Regions from separate parts of the Homo sapiens genome. Here all the other regions are linked to region 3. The links are contacts of gene promoters, found by promoter capture Hi-C in blood cells and fetal thymus (Javierre and others, 2016). All regions are on one chromosome and are shown on one strand. The core of a region is centred on a gene start or on the middle of the fragment in contact, and the rest is flanking DNA. Distances in the headings are between cores, read along the strand shown. Region 1 has its middle 12 kb from the start of CRBN. Region 2 overlaps GRM7-AS3 (GRM7 antisense RNA 3). Region 3 holds the start of EDEM1 (ER degradation enhancing alpha-mannosidase like protein 1).

Evidence for each region. The method cuts DNA at HindIII sites, captures the fragments that hold promoters and counts their contacts. A CHiCAGO score of 5 or more calls a contact.
Region 1: a fragment that was not itself captured here is called in contact with the fragment with the promoter of EDEM1 in region 3 in 1 of 17 cell types (non-activated CD4 T cells); the score reaches 6.5 in non-activated CD4 T cells.
Region 2: a contact is called between a fragment that was not itself captured here and the fragment with the promoter of EDEM1 in region 3, in 1 of 17 cell types (fetal thymus). The highest score is 10.1, in fetal thymus.

What each region holds. Positions count from the first base shown.
Region 1 is chr3:3,190,141-3,192,840 of GRCh38, forward strand. No RefSeq gene overlaps it. Among named protein-coding and RNA genes, the nearest start is that of CRBN, 12 kb to the left of the region's middle. The HindIII fragment of the contact is 5,139 bases long and covers 1-2,700 here.
Region 2 is chr3:6,709,070-6,711,772 of GRCh38, forward strand. The region is part of intron 2 of GRM7-AS3 (GRM7 antisense RNA 3); the gene reads right to left. LOC105376944 (a long non-coding RNA gene) reads left to right here. Exons shown (of 8, transcript NR_188695.1): 3 at 1,384-1,474. Among named protein-coding and RNA genes, the nearest start is that of GRM7-AS3, 95 kb to the right of the region's middle. The HindIII fragment of the contact is 2,569 bases long and covers 63-2,631 here.
Region 3 is chr3:5,186,368-5,189,251 of GRCh38, forward strand. It overlaps EDEM1 (ER degradation enhancing alpha-mannosidase like protein 1), which reads left to right and starts at 1,340. Exons shown (of 12, transcript NM_014674.3): 1 at 1,340-1,947. The coding sequence starts at 1,439. RefSeq lists silencers at 969-1,378, 1,619-1,788, 1,839-2,128 and an enhancer at 2,279-2,328. The HindIII fragment of the contact is 7,598 bases long and covers 130-2,884 here.

The DNA.
Region 1 (2,700 bases), core at 94-2,593, 2.0 Mb before region 3:
TCTGTGACTACTTAACAGCATCAAAGTAGCAGAGCTGGGAATGCAAATTCAGAGAACTTGATAACTCCATTAGAAGACAATGAGGGGAATTAGTTGCTGAGAGGAGGAGCACACTGTGTGGGAGGAGGTAAAGGACAGAACATGGGAAAGTTATGATGTAAGCCTTGGCAAATGCAAGAGGCATTTCTTCACTAGAAATAGAAGGGAAGAATGAATGATGAGGTAGGGTTTGGGCAACCTGAATAATGGTCCCCTGAAGAAATCTACATCCCTGTGAATACATCACTTTACATGGCAAAAGAGGCTTTGCAGATGTGTTAAGTTGAGGATTTTGAGATGGAGAATTTTTCCTGAAATATCTAGATGGGTTCAATCTAATCTCAGGGGTCCCTATTAGAAGGATGCAGGGCTGGACACAGTGGCTCACATCTGCAATCCCAGCACTTCCAGCAATTCGGGAGAGCAAGGCAGGAAAATCGCTTGAGTTTGGGGGTTTGGGACCAGCTTAGGCAACACAGTGAGACTTTGTCTCTATTAAAAATAAATTAGCCAGATATGGTGGCATGCACCCGTAGTACCAGCTACTTGGGAGGCTGAGGCAGGAGGATTGCTTGAGCCCAGGAGGTTGAGGTTGCAGTTTACAAGAAAATTAGCTCCTGTGGACCGTATTAAGAATTTTCACCCTCCCCAAAGCAGAATCTTATGATTAGCTTTGCATTTGGAAATCAGTATTTGGCTGCAGGGTGGAGGAACAGAAGAATCGGGACAAGTGTGGACTAGGAGACACCAATAAGGAGGCAGTGGCATTACTTGCCACACAGTGCTTGAGACACAGAGGGGGCCCAATAAGCCTTAGTTCCCCACTCAAATTCTAGAAGACTGCCAACACTGACTTGCCTTTTAAAGAAAGTCAGGTTTTCAGCTTACCCTACACTTCAGAGCAAGCATAAATAAATCAATGAATTCTATTTTCTCCAAATCTCTGACCGATCAGCATGTGTAGGCTGCATCCACAGGTGAGAAAAGTGAAATTACTGGGCCTGTAGGCAGTTCAGTTACATTCATACAATCATGCACAGGCAATGAATAATCTGGAGTTTTCCTATGAGTTACTGCTTTGGGAGCAGTTTGAGCCTAAGTTTTGATTCCAGAGAAGGCAAAGAAGAACTATTCTCACCCAGACAATTATCATCTGCAAGAACAAAGTGCAGAAAGCAGATCAACAGTCAGTAAACATAATTTTAAACAACCCACATCCCTAAAATCTATGTTTTTTCACTATAGTGACAAGAATTCTTGAAAGACCAACTAAAAGCAGATAAGAATTTTCTAGAAGGTAAAAGATAAAAGATTTTGATGCCATCGGCCACATTTTTATGAGCCATATCTTTATGACTAGAAATTATTGATTACTGTAAAAGTTCCCTTAAGTCAGGAGACCTGCTACTACTTTTCATGTCTCATTTACTATAATTTTTTTATAGCTGTTTTAACAGTAAATCCTATTTTTGAATTTGAGTATGAAGACAAAAATGAATTAAATCTATCTGAATTTTATTCTATCTGGCAGTTCCTGGCTGTAAGACTTTGGGCAGTTTACTTAAACTCTCTTGCCTCTGTTTCCTCATCTTTCAAGTGGGAATGAAGATAATTTACTCTTAAAGGGCCTTTGTGAGATGAATTATAATAACATGGTGAAGCCTTAGAACAGAGCTGGCACGTGGTAAGCACTATCTCAAAGCCTAGCAATTGTAACCCAGTACCCCCATTTTTCTAAGAGGTGGTTTTTCTCTCTTATTGTTCTCCTGGTTCCCCACATCCTATTTAGCCCTTCAGAAATGGAACTATATAGGCTTTTACCTCTCCTTCAGACATCTCTTACTGGGTAAGTTCACGTAACTGTGTGCTCTAAGACAGAACTCTTAACAGTTAATTTACAAACCACAGCATGTTTGCTAGGGAACTCTCACCCTCCAGGAAGTTGTCTTGAGAGATAACAGCTTGCCCAGGAAAACACCAGCAGTCACCAGCTCTACTGCGTGGTAGATAAGCTAGTATGAGGACCATTGCCCTTGCTCACTTTCTCCCCTGTCTTTTAAAAGTGCTCACTTTCTTCTCCAAGAGGGAAGCGGTACATTTAAAGGTGGGATGCCTGTGCTTCATCCTCTAAGCTAGCTTTGGAAATAAATCACTTTCTTTATACCAGACCTCACTCTTGTTAATTGAACTCTGCAAGTGATAAGCAACTAACCCACATTTTGGTTACACTATTGTTACCTGCTATATATCACTCAAATCTAGAGCCAAGTCCGTTGTTTGTTGTGCATCTTCTCCCACTCATTGGTTTGCCTTTTTGATCTCTTGCCAGTAATTAACCTACTGTCTCTTAGCTCCAACCTCTCTGGGAGGTATTTGGCTTTGTGCTCCCCTAGGAGGTACTAGAGGGAAACCACAAGGCTGGAGAAAGAAGGGACTCACTCCTTCCTGTCTGCTTCTTGCTCCTGGGAACATCATGCTCGTCCCACTTCTCCAATGTCATTGTGTTCCTGTAGCAGCAATCACATCCAGCATGTAGTTTTTCCAACATTTGCAGAACCAGCCTTTCAACCTGTCAAGAGACCCTGGCTGTAGCTGACCAGCACCTTCTCAGAGCACTGAATTTCAGCTCAATAGGCCCCTGCTTCCAGCTTCTGAGTTTAA
Region 2 (2,703 bases), core at 97-2,596, 1.5 Mb after region 3:
AGACCCCAAAAGCAAATGGAACATAAACAAAAACAAATGAATGGGACCTGTTTAAGCTAAAAAGCTTCTGTACAGCAAAAGAAATATTCAACAAACAGGTAACCTACAGGATGGGAGAAAATATTTGCAAACTGTACTTCTGACAAAAGACTAATATATCTAGGATCTACAAGGAGCTCAAACAAATCAGAAAGGAAAAAAGAAAAACAAATAATCCCATTAAAAAGTGGGCAAACAATATGAACAGATATTTATCTCGAATTCCTGACCTCAAGTGATCCACTCGACTCGGCCTCCCAGAGTGTTGGGATTACAGGCATGAGCCGCCACGCCTGGCCAGAAGATATTTATCTAAAGAAGATACACAAATGTCCGTATTTAATATTTGCTCTTCAAATTCTGCTTCCCCTTCATTCTTTCTGTTATTTCCTTTTGGGACAATACAGCACATGATTTTTTTTTTTTTTTTTCATTTCTACATACTACTGTATGAGTCTTCACTTAGGTTTTTTTTTTCCACAATTGTATTTTATCAAACTGAAGTAAATTCATAAAAACCTACCACAAATGGAAATGTGGTATCAGGAACCAAAATAGCAATACTTGTACCAGTTTCTGATCTAAGTATTTATACATATTAACACAAATTTTGTCCTCAAAATAACCCTTTCTACTATTATTATTATCATCCCTACTTTAGAAATAGAGTAAATGTGACACGGAGGAAAGAAACGGCTTGTCTTCAGTCATACGGCTAGTAAGGAAGGGATAGAATGAGAAATTGAAAACAGGCTTCAGAATTATTCTTAAGCACCACACGCCACAGTAATACATTGCACTATCCCATGTGTTACCTTTTCAAGGTTTTCAGATAATTCTTTGTGAACTAAAAGAAATAACTTAGTAACCAGAATTCAATTTTATTCAATTCAAAAAATATAAATTGAATGCAGGCAGCTAGCTAATGATCAGCTTTGAAGAGACCTGATCATTAGCTAGCTGTGATCTTCTTTTTAACTAAAAAAATTAAAAGTCTGCATCTAAAATGAGAAAAAGAAATATCCCATATATATATGTGTGTGTGTGTGTGTGTGTATACACACACACACGTATATTTTTCACAGTGTTTTCTGAAGTTTTGCGCTCTAGTGTTATTAATAACCAAGAACACAGAAAGAAGGTGCCTACTATCCACAAGTTGTATAATACAATGCAATCAAATATATAATACATTTTAATCTTTGCATTTGAAATGCAAACATCATTGTGAAGTACAGCCTAAGTGTATTTTTGAATTTATTAAAAACATAGGCGTTACTGATTCTAGAGATAGTAACATGATGCCACATTACACTTTGAAAATGCAAAATCATTTTCCTCCAGGCGGAAGATAGAATGGGAGTCCTAGTTGACCTTCATATAATTTTTAGAAGATGGAGCACTTCAACTTCTTCCACTCATGAAAAGAGAGGTGGTAAGCTGACAGAAAAAATTTCTTTTTATTTACTGGCCATTACAGTTGTAAAATACTGCAGACATGAGCCTAACATAAATCAGTTCTCCTCAGATGAATATGCCTTAAGAGAGGCTTTCTGCCAAGGTTTCTTCACCTTGGCCATATCTCTCTGGAGTACTCTTGATCTGTCTCTGGCAGCCCTTTTGAATTTATTTTGTGTTTAATTCCAAATAATCCTCAATCAGAAAACAAAAATGGAGGCTCAATGCTCTACGGCTGAAAGGAACTTCAGAGGTTATATCAGTTCTATCATCTGTATCAGAATTCTTTCTGCTACAAGCAACAGAAAACACTGCTCAAACTTGCTTAAGCAAAAAAGAAATTGATTATCTCTGTAAAGTAATAGTTCAAATATATGTCATGCTTCAGATGAGGCTTGATCTAGTGGTTCAAAAAGCTCATGAAGGCCAGCATCACTTTCCCTTAGTTTATTCTTCCGTTTATAGTATGTGCCTCATTTTTGGAGTCTTTATGACTCCCATCATGAGAAGACGGCATGCACTGATTAACTTTAGCCACACGGAGTCCATTCTTTTTTTGGGCAGTACAGCCAATACTACCCAGACCATATGGTTTCTCTACAAATGGAAATTCACAATGCTAAAAGAAGTGGGGAAAATGGATGCTGGGGAAGAAGTCAAAAGATACCCATATCATCAACCCCATCGTTTTACAGATGAAAAAGAGACGTTTCAGAGCTACAAGATGGAAGGAGACCATCTGTTCTAAAACTACATTTATGTGACCAGAAGGAAATGTTAATTTTATTAAGCCAATAAGATGTCAAGGTTTATTTCTAACATTGGGGAAATAGAAAGTTTTCTCAGTCATCTTTTCAGTCTTGAGTTTGAGTTTCAGTCATTGACCTAGAATACACATCCCGGATCTTGCTCTCAGAGAACTCATGCTTTAATTCTTAATCTCTTTGGTGTTTAGTCTTCTGAGTGATTGCTTGAGGTTTCTACTTAGCAAAATGGGGACAATGAGGAATGTGTACCAAGATGAAAGAAACGCTTCATTGATAAATTAGATAGCACCTGCACATGCAGAGTTACAGTTGCATTTCTTACTGGCTTCGCCACATCACTTCTTACTCCTTGAAGTCATATAAGGAAAGCTTTTTTCTTTTTTAAAGTAGGGCATCGGTGGAATGACATGCCTTTTGAGACAGGGAACACAGCCTCATG
Region 3 (2,884 bases), core at 90-2,589:
ATTTCAGAAAGTCCTCTACCCTGAAAATGTGATGAGAGTGCCACATGACAACTTACCTTCTTATGCACTCCATTGGTCGGCCATTCAGCCAATATCAGATTTGGGGGTCTAGTCAGGTCTTGCTTCCCAAGCTTTTCAGAAACCCTGATGAAACAGGCATAGGGTCTAAACTTAGGGAGGGCAAAACTTACAGCCAACTCCAAATGCAGCAAGCAAAATAAATAAGCGCCTAAACCATTGAATCTTTATGTGAAAGCCATAGCCCTTTAGAGCTAACATTTGCAATCTTCTTAATTATAGGAAGTAGATACAGAGGGGTAAAGTTATTTAACTGGGAATCTACCCCACACCTCAAAGGTTAGGTCACTAATTGCGGGTGCACAGGAGAGATGGTAGGATGGGAGGGACAGGAGAAGACATGTTTAGATATATCTGGTAAATAATTTGGTGGTGGTGGGAGCCTTCATTCCCACCCCCAACCCGCCCCCCCCTTTTAAAAAAATCCTATTTCCGAGACAAAAGCAATATAACATAACTTTGTATTTCCTGAAACTTCCAGTTTCTAAGAACTGTCCAAGAGTACTTACACGCACATTCCCGAGACCGTTGGAGTTGTTCGATAGGTCTAGGGAGGGATCTGGGGATACGTGTTTTACAAGCACCATGAGCGATTCTTCAAAGTTGGGTGTTTGAATCAAAAGAGCAGAATTCATGATACCGTTTTGTGCACTCCTTGAGCTAAAAGGTAGTATCCCACCCTCTCCATAAACAGACACCTAAGTTATAAAACTTATGCGCTCGATATGCAAAAATAGCTCGTTTTATACAGAAACGATCCTTTCCTTCTTTTCCTTATATATCTTTTAACTGTCATCACTCCTAACCTAGACCTAGAGTGGCTTTTTCCGGTCCTAGCTCTGCCGGACACACGCTCTGCCCAGAGACCCGATCCACCCAAGGCCAGGCGGTCTGGGGTCACGTCTGTGTCCAGCGTCCGGCGGGCGCTGCCGTGCCGCTCTCCCATTGGCTGGAAGTTCCCTCGCGGGCCGGCGCGGCTCCTGCTCGCCACGCCAGCCCATCGGGCTACGGACCGCCCAGGGGGGCGGGGCTTGGGAGTTGGGGCGGGGCCCGGGTGAGGGGCGGGGCCTCGGGGCGTCGCGGACGTCCTGGCGGCCTACTGCGTGGGAGGGAGTCCTGGGCCGCGCCCCGCGAGGCCGGGCCCAGGCCGGGCCAATCCCGGGCCACTGGGCGGGCGACCGTGGGGCCTGGCCGGCCCGCCGGAGAGCCTGGGGGTTGGGGACGATGGGCTAGTTCCTGGTGCGTCACGGGGGAGTTCCTTAAAGGGGAAGCGAGCCGGGCTACGGGGCGAGCGCGGGGTGCGGTGGTCGGCGGGGAGGCCCCCGCGCTTTAAAATAATGCCCGCGGCGCCCGCGCGACCATGCAATGGCGAGCGCTCGTCCTGGGGCTGGTGCTCCTCCGGCTTGGCCTCCATGGAGTATTGTGGCTCGTCTTCGGGCTGGGGCCCAGCATGGGCTTCTACCAGCGCTTTCCGCTCAGCTTCGGCTTCCAGCGTCTGAGGAGCCCCGACGGCCCCGCGTCGCCCACCTCGGGGCCCGTGGGCCGGCCTGGGGGGGTATCCGGGCCGTCGTGGCTGCAGCCGCCGGGGACCGGGGCAGCGCAGAGCCCGCGCAAGGCTCCGCGGCGTCCTGGGCCGGGGATGTGCGGCCCAGCCAACTGGGGCTACGTGCTGGGCGGCCGGGGCCGCGGCCCGGACGAGTACGAGAAGCGCTACAGCGGCGCCTTCCCTCCGCAGCTGCGTGCCCAGATGCGCGACCTGGCACGGGGCATGTTCGTCTTTGGCTACGACAACTACATGGCTCACGCCTTCCCCCAGGACGAGCTCAACCCCATCCACTGCCGCGGCCGTGGGCCCGACCGCGGGGACCCGTGAGTAGCCCCCGCCGCCCGGGGCCGCGCGCCCACGCGCTTCCTTCCGCCCTCCGCGCCGGGGTGCAGCCCTCTGTCCTCCGGGGCCCCCGAGGGCGCCAGGGCCGTTAGGGTCCCGGGCAGCGCTCCCGCGCCCTGTCCCGTGTGAGTCCCTGTGAAGACCCCCGAGCTTGAGGGTGCGGGGTGGGCCGGTGGCCTTCCTCTCCTGATTCTCCCGGAATCTCCAAACTTCAGAACTGCTGTCCAGCTCAGTGTCTTACGCGTGAGGATACTGAGGTCCAGGACCAGAAGGGACAGTGGCAGTGCCAAGGGCTGGCTTGGAGGGCTTTCCACTTCCATCCGACCCCTTCCTCCGGATGAGCATAAACTCTAAATGAAATCTCCATCATGCCCCCCGTGTAAACGCAGCCTCAGAACAAGCCTTTACCTCGCACCCCCACCTCTATCACATTGCCACACCCACGTCTTTTCTATGTAAAAAGCCTATAGTTGACTTCTCCAAAGCCGTCCATTGAGTTTGAGGCAGAACGGGGTTACAGCCTCTCCTTCACAGGGGCTGCTTCTTAGGCTGAGGATAGTTAGGTGGTGGGGAGGGAAGCTATGTGGCCCACTTTTGGGGTCCAGATACTTGAGGTGAAATTCACTGGATGCCAGATTGACTGTCAACGTCATCGCCCTGTACGATCTGTCTATAAATCCCCCGCCTCTGGTGGCGTGGTTGTCCGGGAAGGTCAGGCAGTCTTCCCTGTTCACCAGCCTTGTTTGCAAAGGCTGAGCTCCAAGGGTCACCACTGTTGACATCAAAGTCCAAGAGGGCAGTACACCCAGCTAAGGACCTCTTACCTGTAGGGAAGGAATGTGCATTGCCATAGACCCTGTTAGTCCAAATAGTTGACTCCCCTCCCCTGGATGGGAGTGGAGGAGTTGGTTTGCTCAG